Regions from separate parts of the Homo sapiens genome. Here region 2 is linked to region 1. The links are contacts of gene promoters, found by promoter capture Hi-C in blood cells and fetal thymus (Javierre and others, 2016). All regions are on one chromosome and are shown on one strand. Each heading gives the region's core, a stretch centred on a gene start or on the middle of the fragment in contact. The rest is flanking DNA. Distances are from core to core; before and after follow the strand shown. Region 1 holds the start of YY1AP1 (YY1 associated protein 1). Region 2 holds the start of CFAP141 (cilia and flagella associated protein 141).

Evidence for each region. The method cuts DNA at HindIII sites, captures the fragments that hold promoters and counts their contacts. A CHiCAGO score of 5 or more calls a contact.
Region 2: the fragment with the promoter of CFAP141 here is called in contact with the fragment with the promoter of YY1AP1 in region 1 in 1 of 17 cell types (neutrophils); the score reaches 5.1 in neutrophils.

Annotation. Positions count from the first base shown.
Region 1 is chr1:155,686,642-155,691,164 of GRCh38, reverse strand. It overlaps YY1AP1 (YY1 associated protein 1), which reads left to right and starts at 2,391. Exons shown (of 11, transcript NM_139119.3): 1 at 2,391-2,506; 2 at 2,964-3,094. DAP3 (death associated protein 3) reads right to left here and starts at 2,074. Exons shown (of 13, transcript NM_004632.4): 1 at 1,991-2,074. It also overlaps the pseudogene LOC124904430. RefSeq lists enhancers at 1,926-1,975, 2,351-2,985 and a silencer at 2,466-2,515. The HindIII fragment of the contact is 12,603 bases long and covers 1-4,523 here.
Region 2 is chr1:154,204,132-154,208,542 of GRCh38, reverse strand. CFAP141 (cilia and flagella associated protein 141) reads left to right here and starts at 2,210. Exons shown (of 4, transcript NM_001010979.3): 1 at 2,210-2,268; 2 at 2,905-2,945. The coding sequence starts at 2,236. LTAP1 (lipid transport auxiliary protein 1) reads left to right here. Exons shown (of 7, transcript NM_001098616.3): 7 at 895-1,823. The coding sequence ends at 1,090. The HindIII fragment of the contact is 7,725 bases long and covers 1,371-4,411 here.

The DNA.
Region 1 (4,523 bases), core at 1,142-3,641:
GAGGCTGAGGCAGGTGGATCATGAGGTCAGGAGATCGAGACCAGCCTGGCTAACACGGTGAAACCCCGTCTCTACTAAAAATACAAAAAATTAGCTGGACGTGGTGGCGGGTGCCTGTAGTCCCAGCTACTCAGGAGGCTGAGGTAGGAGAATGGCGCGAACCCGGGAGGCGGAGCTTGCAGTGAGCCGAGATCGCGCCACTGCACTCCAGCCTGGGTGACAGAGCGAGACTCCGTCTCAAAAAAAAAATAAAATAAATTAGCTGGATGTGGTGGCATGTGCCTGTAGTCCTAGTTGCTCAGATGGCTGAGGTGGGAGGATCCCTTGAGCCAAGGAGCTTGAGGTTGCAGTGAGCCAGGACTGCACTACTGCCTTCCAGCCTTGGCGACATAGATCCTATCTCAAAGCAAACAAACAAAAAAAAGTGTAAATTTACAGAAGAGTTGCAAAGGTAGTACAAAGTGCTTTCTTACAATTTTCATTAGAGTTTCCTTAATGTTACATACATATGACCATGGTACAATTTTCAAAATTAAGAAATTAAAGCTGGTACAATACTATTTAAAAATTGCAGACTTTATTTGCATTTCCTCAGCTTTTCTGCTAATGTCTTCTTTCTTTTTTTGAGACAGGGTCTCGCTCTGTCACCTAGGCTGCAGTGTGATGGCGTGATCTCGGCTAACTTTGCAACCTCTTCCTCAATCCTCCTGCTTCAGCCTCCCAAGTAGCTCAGACTACAAGCGTGTGCCACACCTGTCTAATTTTTGTGTCTTTTTGTAGAGATGGGGTTTCACCGTGTTGCCTAAGCTGGTCTCGAACTCCTAGGCTCAAGCAATGCGCCCTCCTCCGCCTCCCAAAGTGCTGAGATTACAGGTGTGAGCCACTGCGCCCAGCCTAATGTCTTCTTTCTGTTACAGGATCCAGTAGAAGATTCCACATCTGGAGATCTTTTCCTTTCTTTATATCTATCACCGACATTACCTACTCTTTAAAAATTTTGTAAAAGGCATAAATTTGAAAAATATATCCTCATTAATCTAAATCAAGTCATTGATACAACTATTTAACAAGACGCCCGGCCTGCTTTGTTTTATTAACGACTTGGAGGGACAGAACACTACCCATTACACCCACAAACGTTATCGACATCAACAGAACTGTAAATGACAACACGGCAATACTCTGCACCTTCCCTATGCCTAGGAGCTAATTCCACTTTACATATATTATTATTTCGTGTGTGTGTGTGTGTGTGTGACGGAGTCTCGCTTTGTCGCCAGGCTGGAGTGCAGTGGCGCGATCTCGGCTCACTGCAACTTCCGCCGCCCGGGTTCAAGCAATTCTCCTGCCTCAGCCTCCCGAGTAGCTGGGGCTACAGGCGCCCGCCACCACGGCCGGCTAATATTTGTATTTTTAGTAGAGACGGGGTTTCACCATGTTGGCCAGGATTGTCTCGATCTCTTCACCTTGTCATCCACCTGCCTCGGCCTCCCAAAGTGCTGGGATTACAGGCGTGAGCCACCGCGCCCAGCCCTATCTTATTATTTCACACACCAACCCTGGAGGCATGTTTGGAGTTGCCTAATTTTTATGTACACTTTTTGATAAGGAACTAACAAAAATAACTTGCTGAAGACAAGGGAAACTGAGTCCAGAACTGAATGAGAAGCACATGGTTTCTTCATCCTCCATCACCAGGCTGTCTAACGAGGCTGAAGTACCATCCATGAGTAAGTGCGTCAAGGGCAAACAAACATCATCGCATATGGACAGTGGTGTGAAATTCGAGAAATCCGAGGAGGGTTAACAACAACAAAAAGCACACCACCACGCCGAACTTCCTCGGGTCCCAGGTTGGCAACTCAACGCCCGGGAGGAATCCCCCCCGGAGGCGCGCCGGTCTACCGGCCTCACTCCCTACCTCCTGGAGGTCCGGAGTCCCGCTCCTTTCCCTCAGCGGTACAATACCCGTGTCGGTCCATTCCCTCACCGTGAGTCGAGGACTAGTTCTCCAGACTAGGCGACCGACACACGCTGCCTGGGGCCGGCTCCAAAGCGCCCGTCCTGAGACTGCAAAAAAGGGTCGGGTCATCCGGCAGGAAACGACTCAACGCGCAGCCGCCGCGGCCTCCAACCACCGGCCGGCAGAGGGGCGCTAGGCCGCCCTCGATCCCCTCGCCGCGGTCCCATGGAGGAGGAGGCGAGCCGCAGCGCCGCGGCGACGAACCCAGGGAGGTAGGTTGTCATGGGACTCGGCCGGCCACCCTGGCAATTCCAGTCAAACGGCAAGCCAGACTCGCTTTGCCGGTCCCTTCCTCTCCTGCCCCTGCAGCCGCCAGGAATGGAACAGTCCCGCGGTGGGGACTGTGGGAGGCGCACGCGCGAGGAGTGTAGGGTGGGGGTGCTGGCGGCGGCTGCTTTGGCGGCGGTTGGTGGCCGTGCGGGCGGGGAGGGAGGGGGAGGAGAGAAGAGGAGGTGGAGAAGGCTTGGGCTCGCGCCGCTGAAGGTACGCGTGAGGGCCTGCGCTGGAGCCGGCTTGACAGGGTCTGAGGGGGAGTGGAGAACTGGGCGAGGAGGTTCCCGTGGGTGAGCGCGTACGGGATGGCTGGCTCGCAGGACGGCCGAAGGTGGTGGTTGGTGGGAGCAGCCAGCGACGAGCCCGTAGACACTCGTACGCGTGCGGGCTGACGTGCGCGCTACATGGCCGGAGTCGGGCGAAGCGGGGGACCGTGGGGAAGAACGCGAGGAGGGAGGAGTGGGAGGTTGGGGGTGTCGCTAGGCGCCCTTAGCTCCCTCCCTCTGGAGGAGCTGCCGCGGCCACTCTGCTGCCGCCGCTGCCGCCGCCATTTTGGGTTCGCTTTGCGAGGGGAAACGATCCCAGTGTCGGTTGCGGGATCCGCCTCCTCTCAGTTTGCCCCTTTAGCCCTCCACCTTTCCCTTCTCCTCTCTCGCATTTCCGCCAGTCGGCTTACCCGCTGGCCGCCTCCTGACAAGCGGGAGGGATCCGCGGTGGACCCAGGGAAGCGGAGGAGCCTGGCGGCCACCCCCTCTTCCTCACTTCCCTGTACTCTCATCGCTCTCGGCCTCCGACACGGTGAGTAGAACGATTTGGGCCGGCATTCGGGCCTAAGCACTCTCTCAGCGATTGAATCCTGGGCTTTCTGGGAGCCACTGTCATCTCCCGGACCTGGACCTCTGGGAGAGCAGTGGTGAAGATGGGGGAGGGGAGAGCAGGGAGGGGGATCCTGAGCCTACCGGGAAGTCCCTCCAGGCGGGGTGAAGGGGTGTCCCTGACAGGCAGACTCCCGGAGGGGGCTGGGAAGTAAGCGAGTGGAGGCGGAGTCGGCTGTGCCCCTGACAGGTTAGTTTGTGTTTGTAGGCATGATCGGAGCCTCCCCCATAGTCCAGTTTGTGTGTGTTTAATTAAGGGATAAGAGTGGTCGAGGACACGATCTTGAGAGGGGATTTTACCTGTGTGACAAGGTCTGTGGTGTCCCTGCCGCGTTGAACGGTATGTGGGAACGACAGGATGATCTCAGTGTTGTACGTTTAATAAATGTCACTGGTTAGTTTGTACATGGAAAGAGATGTTTTTGGTCTAGCAGACAGATGGTCTGTTGGTGTGTAGCGGCTGTGTTGGTGTGTGTATGTGAGGATGGCAAGTGTTTCCGTAAGAGTTTGCCTTTATTTGTGTAAGTGTAATGGAGTTCCCCTTATAAGTTAGCTTATTTCTTGAATAAATGTTGGGAGGTTCCTTGCAGGTTGATATGTGTGTGTATTTTAGGGATTGGGAGCCCCTAGTTACTTGTTGGGAAAGAGCGGCAATGGTAGTGTTCTGTACAGCATGTGTCTGTGAGGTCAGGGAGGGGAGAAACTTGGCATAGCCAGTTGTGGTCTTAAGAATAGTTTGTGCCTTTGGTTAGAGTGAGTTGTGTAAATGTGAAGGGCCAAAATATCTTTAACAGAATCATTGCTACAAAGCTGTAAAGAATGGGTGGCCTTATTTGTTGTCGCGGGTTTATAGTAATAGTTTACAATACAATAAGAAAGCTCTTTCAGTTTCTTTGTGATACTGAATCTCTGTGAAAATGGTAGGATGCTTTCTTCCATTTTACAAAATAGGAAATTTAGGCATAAGGAGAGAACTTCTCCAAGGCCGCATGTTAAATTGGTGACAAAGTTGGAACTGTAACTCCCATATTTTCACTACTACTGCAGCAGTATATTCAGCATACCATGGTGCCTCAGGAAGTCTTTGTCGGCAAATCTGAGTATGCTGGAAAGATAGGAGCACATAAGACTGGTTGGCTTGTATTTGGGGGAGACCGATTGTGTCAGATATGTATGTGGAACGTAGCTGTCCTTGCCGAGTCTGACCTGTATGAAATGCATATCCATGGCTATATTATTTTGGATTTATGGAGGAAGCAGAGCATTTCTGACACTTAAGGTTGTATGCGTGAGGGAGAAGGCTTTCACAGCTTAACTTGTACCAGAGCAGCTGCATGGGTGCTGACAGCTTA
Region 2 (4,411 bases), core at 961-3,460, 1.5 Mb after region 1:
GCCAGAGGCAAGAACTCTGGGAAATTGGTTTCTCTGCTGCTAGTTGTTTTTGGTATGAGTAGGTGTGTGTCAGGGTACCCAAACAGGGCCTTTATTCTGTCACCCAGGCTGGAGTGCTGCTACTTTTTTAGGGTGTGTGTGAGAGAGAGAGACAGGGTCTCAGTCTGTCGCCCAGACTGGAGTGCAGTGGCACATTCATGGCTCACTGCAGCCTCGAATTCTGGGTTCAAGCGATCCTCCTGCCTCAGCCTCCTGAGGAACCAGGACTACAGGTGCTTGCCACCATACCTGGCTAATTTTTTGCAGAGATAGGGTCTCACTTTGTTTCCCAGACTGGTCTCAAACTCCCCTGGGCTCAAGCGATCTCTGGCCTCTGCCTCCTGAAGTGCTGGGATTACAGGTATAAGTGACCATGCCCAGCCTCTCTGCTACTTTTTTTTTTTTTGAGATGGAGTCTTGCTCTGTCACCCAGGCTGAAGTGCAGTGGCGCAATCTTGGCTTGCAACCTCTGCCTCCTGGGTTCAAGTGATTCTCTTGCCTCAGCCTCCCGAGTAGCTGGGATTACAGGCACCCGCCACCACTCCCAGCTAATTTTTGTATTTTTAGTAGAGACAGGGTTTCACCATGTTGGCCAGGCTGGTCTCGAACTCCTGACCTCAAACAATCCACCTGCCTGGGCCTCCCAAAGTGCTGGGATTACAGGCGTGAGCCACCGCGCTCAGCCTCTTGTATTTCTAAGCTACTAGATGGGGTTTTAGTAACTAGTTTACAAAATAGGACAGATAGGACACAAATAACTATTTGTGACTATTGCTGCATTTATGGCCTGGGATAAGCCCTGATTTCTTTGATTAGTCCTCATTCTGTCAATGACCTCCCCTCTCTGTTCTTCAGGGTTAAAGCACGAATTGGGAGCTCTCAGCGACATCACCAGTCAGCAGCCAAAGACCTAACTCAGTCCCCTGAGGTCTCCCCAACAACCATCCAGGTGACATACCTCCCCTCCAGTCAGAAGAGTAAACGTGCCAAGCACTTCCTTGAATTGAAGAGCTTTAAGGATAACTATAACACATTGGAGAGTACTCTGTGACGGAGCTGAAGGACTCTTGCCGTAGATTAAGCCAGTCAGTTGCAATGTGCAAGACAGGCTGCTTGCCGGGCCGCCCTCGGAACATCTGGCCCAGCAGGCCCAGACTGTATCCATCCAAGTTCCCGTTGTATCCAGAGTTCTTAGAGCTTGTGTCTAAAGGGTAATTCCCCAACCCTTCCTTATGAGCATTTTTAGAACATTGGCTAAGACTATTTTCCCCCAGTAGCGCTTTTTTCTGGATTTGCATTCAGGTGTTATTCTTAATGTTTCTGTCAAAGCTTCTTAAAAATCTTCACTTGGTTTCAGCCATAGTTCACCTTCCCTGTTCCAGGTTTATTTAATTCCAAAGGTGAGAGTTGGAGTGAGATGTCTTCCATATCTATACCTTTGTGCACAGTTGAATGGGAACTGTTTGGGTTTAGGGCATCTTAGAGTTGATTGATGGAAAAAGCAGACAGGAACTGGTGGGAGGTCAAGTGGGGAAGTTGGTGAATGTGGAATAACTTACCTTTGTGCTCCACTTAAACCAGATGTGTTGCAGCTTTCCTGACATGCAAGGATCTACTTTAATTCCACACTCTCATTAATAAATTGAATAAAAGGGAATGTTTTGGCACCTGATATAATCTGCCAGGCTATGTGACAGTAGGAAGGAATGGTTTCCCCTAACAAGCCCAATGCACTGGTCTGACTTTATAAATTATTTAATAAAATGAACTATTATCAAATAAAACGTATGAATCAGTCCTTTATAGTTGTCTTTTAATAAAACAGGCATTTGATAATGTTATCTGCACATTTCTAACAGGGTATAGGGCATGAGGATTTGCCTCCAGAGAATTGGTGGGACTGTGTGCATACCCTGGACCTACGACCATACACATACTCCTTGGGACCCTAGCACAAGAAATCCTAAAATCAGGACTGTGGCCCTTGCTCATAGATGCCTGTGTCACCAACAGAAGGCTGCAGAACAAGGATTCTCTCAAGGTTTCTGGGGCAACAGGCCAGGTGGCCAATCAACTCCTAGGCCCAGGGTTATTGTTGGAGGTGTAAATGTTACTATGACTACTGAAACCTTGGTTACTGAACTAAACAGAGGAGCCTGTCAGTCTCCTCAGACTGTATCAAGCAAATCTATAGACATGTCTGTGGAAAAGATGACAAAAGTAGAAGAGGTATGCAGAGTTGGAAGGAGGGGCTGGGTTGAAGTTTGATGAAGTTTCCAGATCAATTTACTATAAGTGCATCTTTTACTGGGAAAGGCTTTTGATGTAACAAGGGTATAATGTAGTTAGTAACAGGAGTGGGAGGCTGTGTCTAGTACACAGTAGGTATTCAAATATGTGTTCTATCCAACCCCTGCGTGTTTTCTTTGATCCATTCTGAAAGTAGAGCTTTCCTCTCCCTATTTCCCCCCAGGAAATTGCTTTCTCAAAAAGGTCTATGTGGCTGGGTGCGGTGACTCACGCCTGTAATCCTATCACTTTGGGAGGCTGAGGTGGGCGGATCACCTGAGGTCAGGAGTTCGAGACTAGCCTGACCAACATGGAGAAACCCCATCTCTACTAAAAATACAAAATTAGCCCGGCATGGTGGTGCATTCCTATAATCTCAGCTACTCGGAGGCTGAGGCAGGAGAATCGCTTGAACCCGGGAGGCGGAGATTGCGGTGAGCCGAGATCACGCCACTGCACTCTGGCCTGGGCAACAAGAGCAAAACTCTGTCTCAAAAAAAAAAAAGGTCTATGTCTCTCATTAGAATAGAGGTTCTGGAGACTGAGGCAGATCAACAGAACTACCTTTTCTTGCAGAGTTTTCAAAAGGCCATGGGACTTAAGAAGACGGTCGACAGGTAATCTGCTTCTATCCCCTCCCTTTACCTTTGAGCTTGACCTTTCCACTCTGCTGTCTTCCCTGAGCCACCTCCCAACTCTGCTGCATCTCTTTAGGGGCTCATCAAGAGGAAAACAGATGCGGAAGGGGTGAGAAGCAGCCTTGTCCTCAAAGCAAATGAGATCAGCCTCTTAGTGCCTACTAGGTTAGGTGATATAGATTGGTTTTTATTGTCCCCTGCCTCATTCTCTGGAGAAAAATTGAAGCATGTTTTTATTTTCTTTTTTTATCAAGAATTCAAGTATTTGTTGCCTGGCTTTGTACTAATTATGTGGTTGGTAGTGCAGTATTTGTTGAACCAGTGAATGAGAAGATTCACAAGACTGGGCTACGTATCCTTTTCACCCTGATGAACTTTTGAAAAAACTGATGCAGCCGGGCGCGGTGGCTCACGCCTGTAATCCTAGCACTTTGGGAGGCTGAGGCAGGAGGATTGCCTGAGCTCAGGAGTTCAAGACCAGCCTAGGCAACATGGTGAAACCCTGTCTCTACTAAAATACAAAAGAAGTTAGCCAGGCATGGTAGTGTGCGCCTGTAGTCCCAGCTACTCGGGAGGCTGAGGCAGGAGAATTGCTTGAACTTAGGATGCGGAGGGTGCAGTGAGCCAAGATCGCACCACTGCACTCCAGCACTCCAGCCTGGGTGACAGAGCAAGACTCCGTCTCTACAAAAAAAAAAAAAAAAACACTGATGCAAGCCTGGCATGGTGGTTCACACCTATAATCCCAGCACCTTGGGAGGCCGAGGCAGGGGGATTGCTTGAGCCCAGGAGCTCGAGACCAGCCTGGGCAACATAGGAAAACCCTGTCTCTACCAAAAAAATTAAAATTAGCTAGGTGTGGTGGTGCATGCCTGTAGTCTCAGCCACTCAGGAGACTGAAGCAGGAGGATCAGTTGAGCTCAGGTCAAGTGATGCCACCACTGCATTCTAGCCTGGGTGAGAGAGGAAAACCCTGTCTCAAAACAAAACAAAATGAGCTGGGCACATTGGCTCATGTCTGTAATCCCAGCACTTTGGGAGGGCAAGGCAGGTGGATTGCTTGAGCTCAGGAGTTCGAGACCAGCCTGGGCAACATGGCAAGACCCCCATCTCTACCAAAAAACTTAATTTAAATAAATAAATAAGCACTGATGCCTAGTTCTTAACCCTAGGAGATTCTGATAAAAGTGGTCTGAAATGGGATAGGAGAAGCCTTTTTTTAAGGTTTCACGGGTTATATCCAGAGCTAGCAAGGATGTGAAGAAACAAGAACATATATGATTTTAATAGGAGTCTAGGTTGATACAGCCATGTTTACAAAGGCAGTTTGATAAAATCTATCAAAATTTAAATTTACATATCCATTGAACTGGCAAAAATAGGAATTTATCTTAAATATACATACTTGGAAAAGCACTAGAAGGTACATACACAAGAATGTTCAT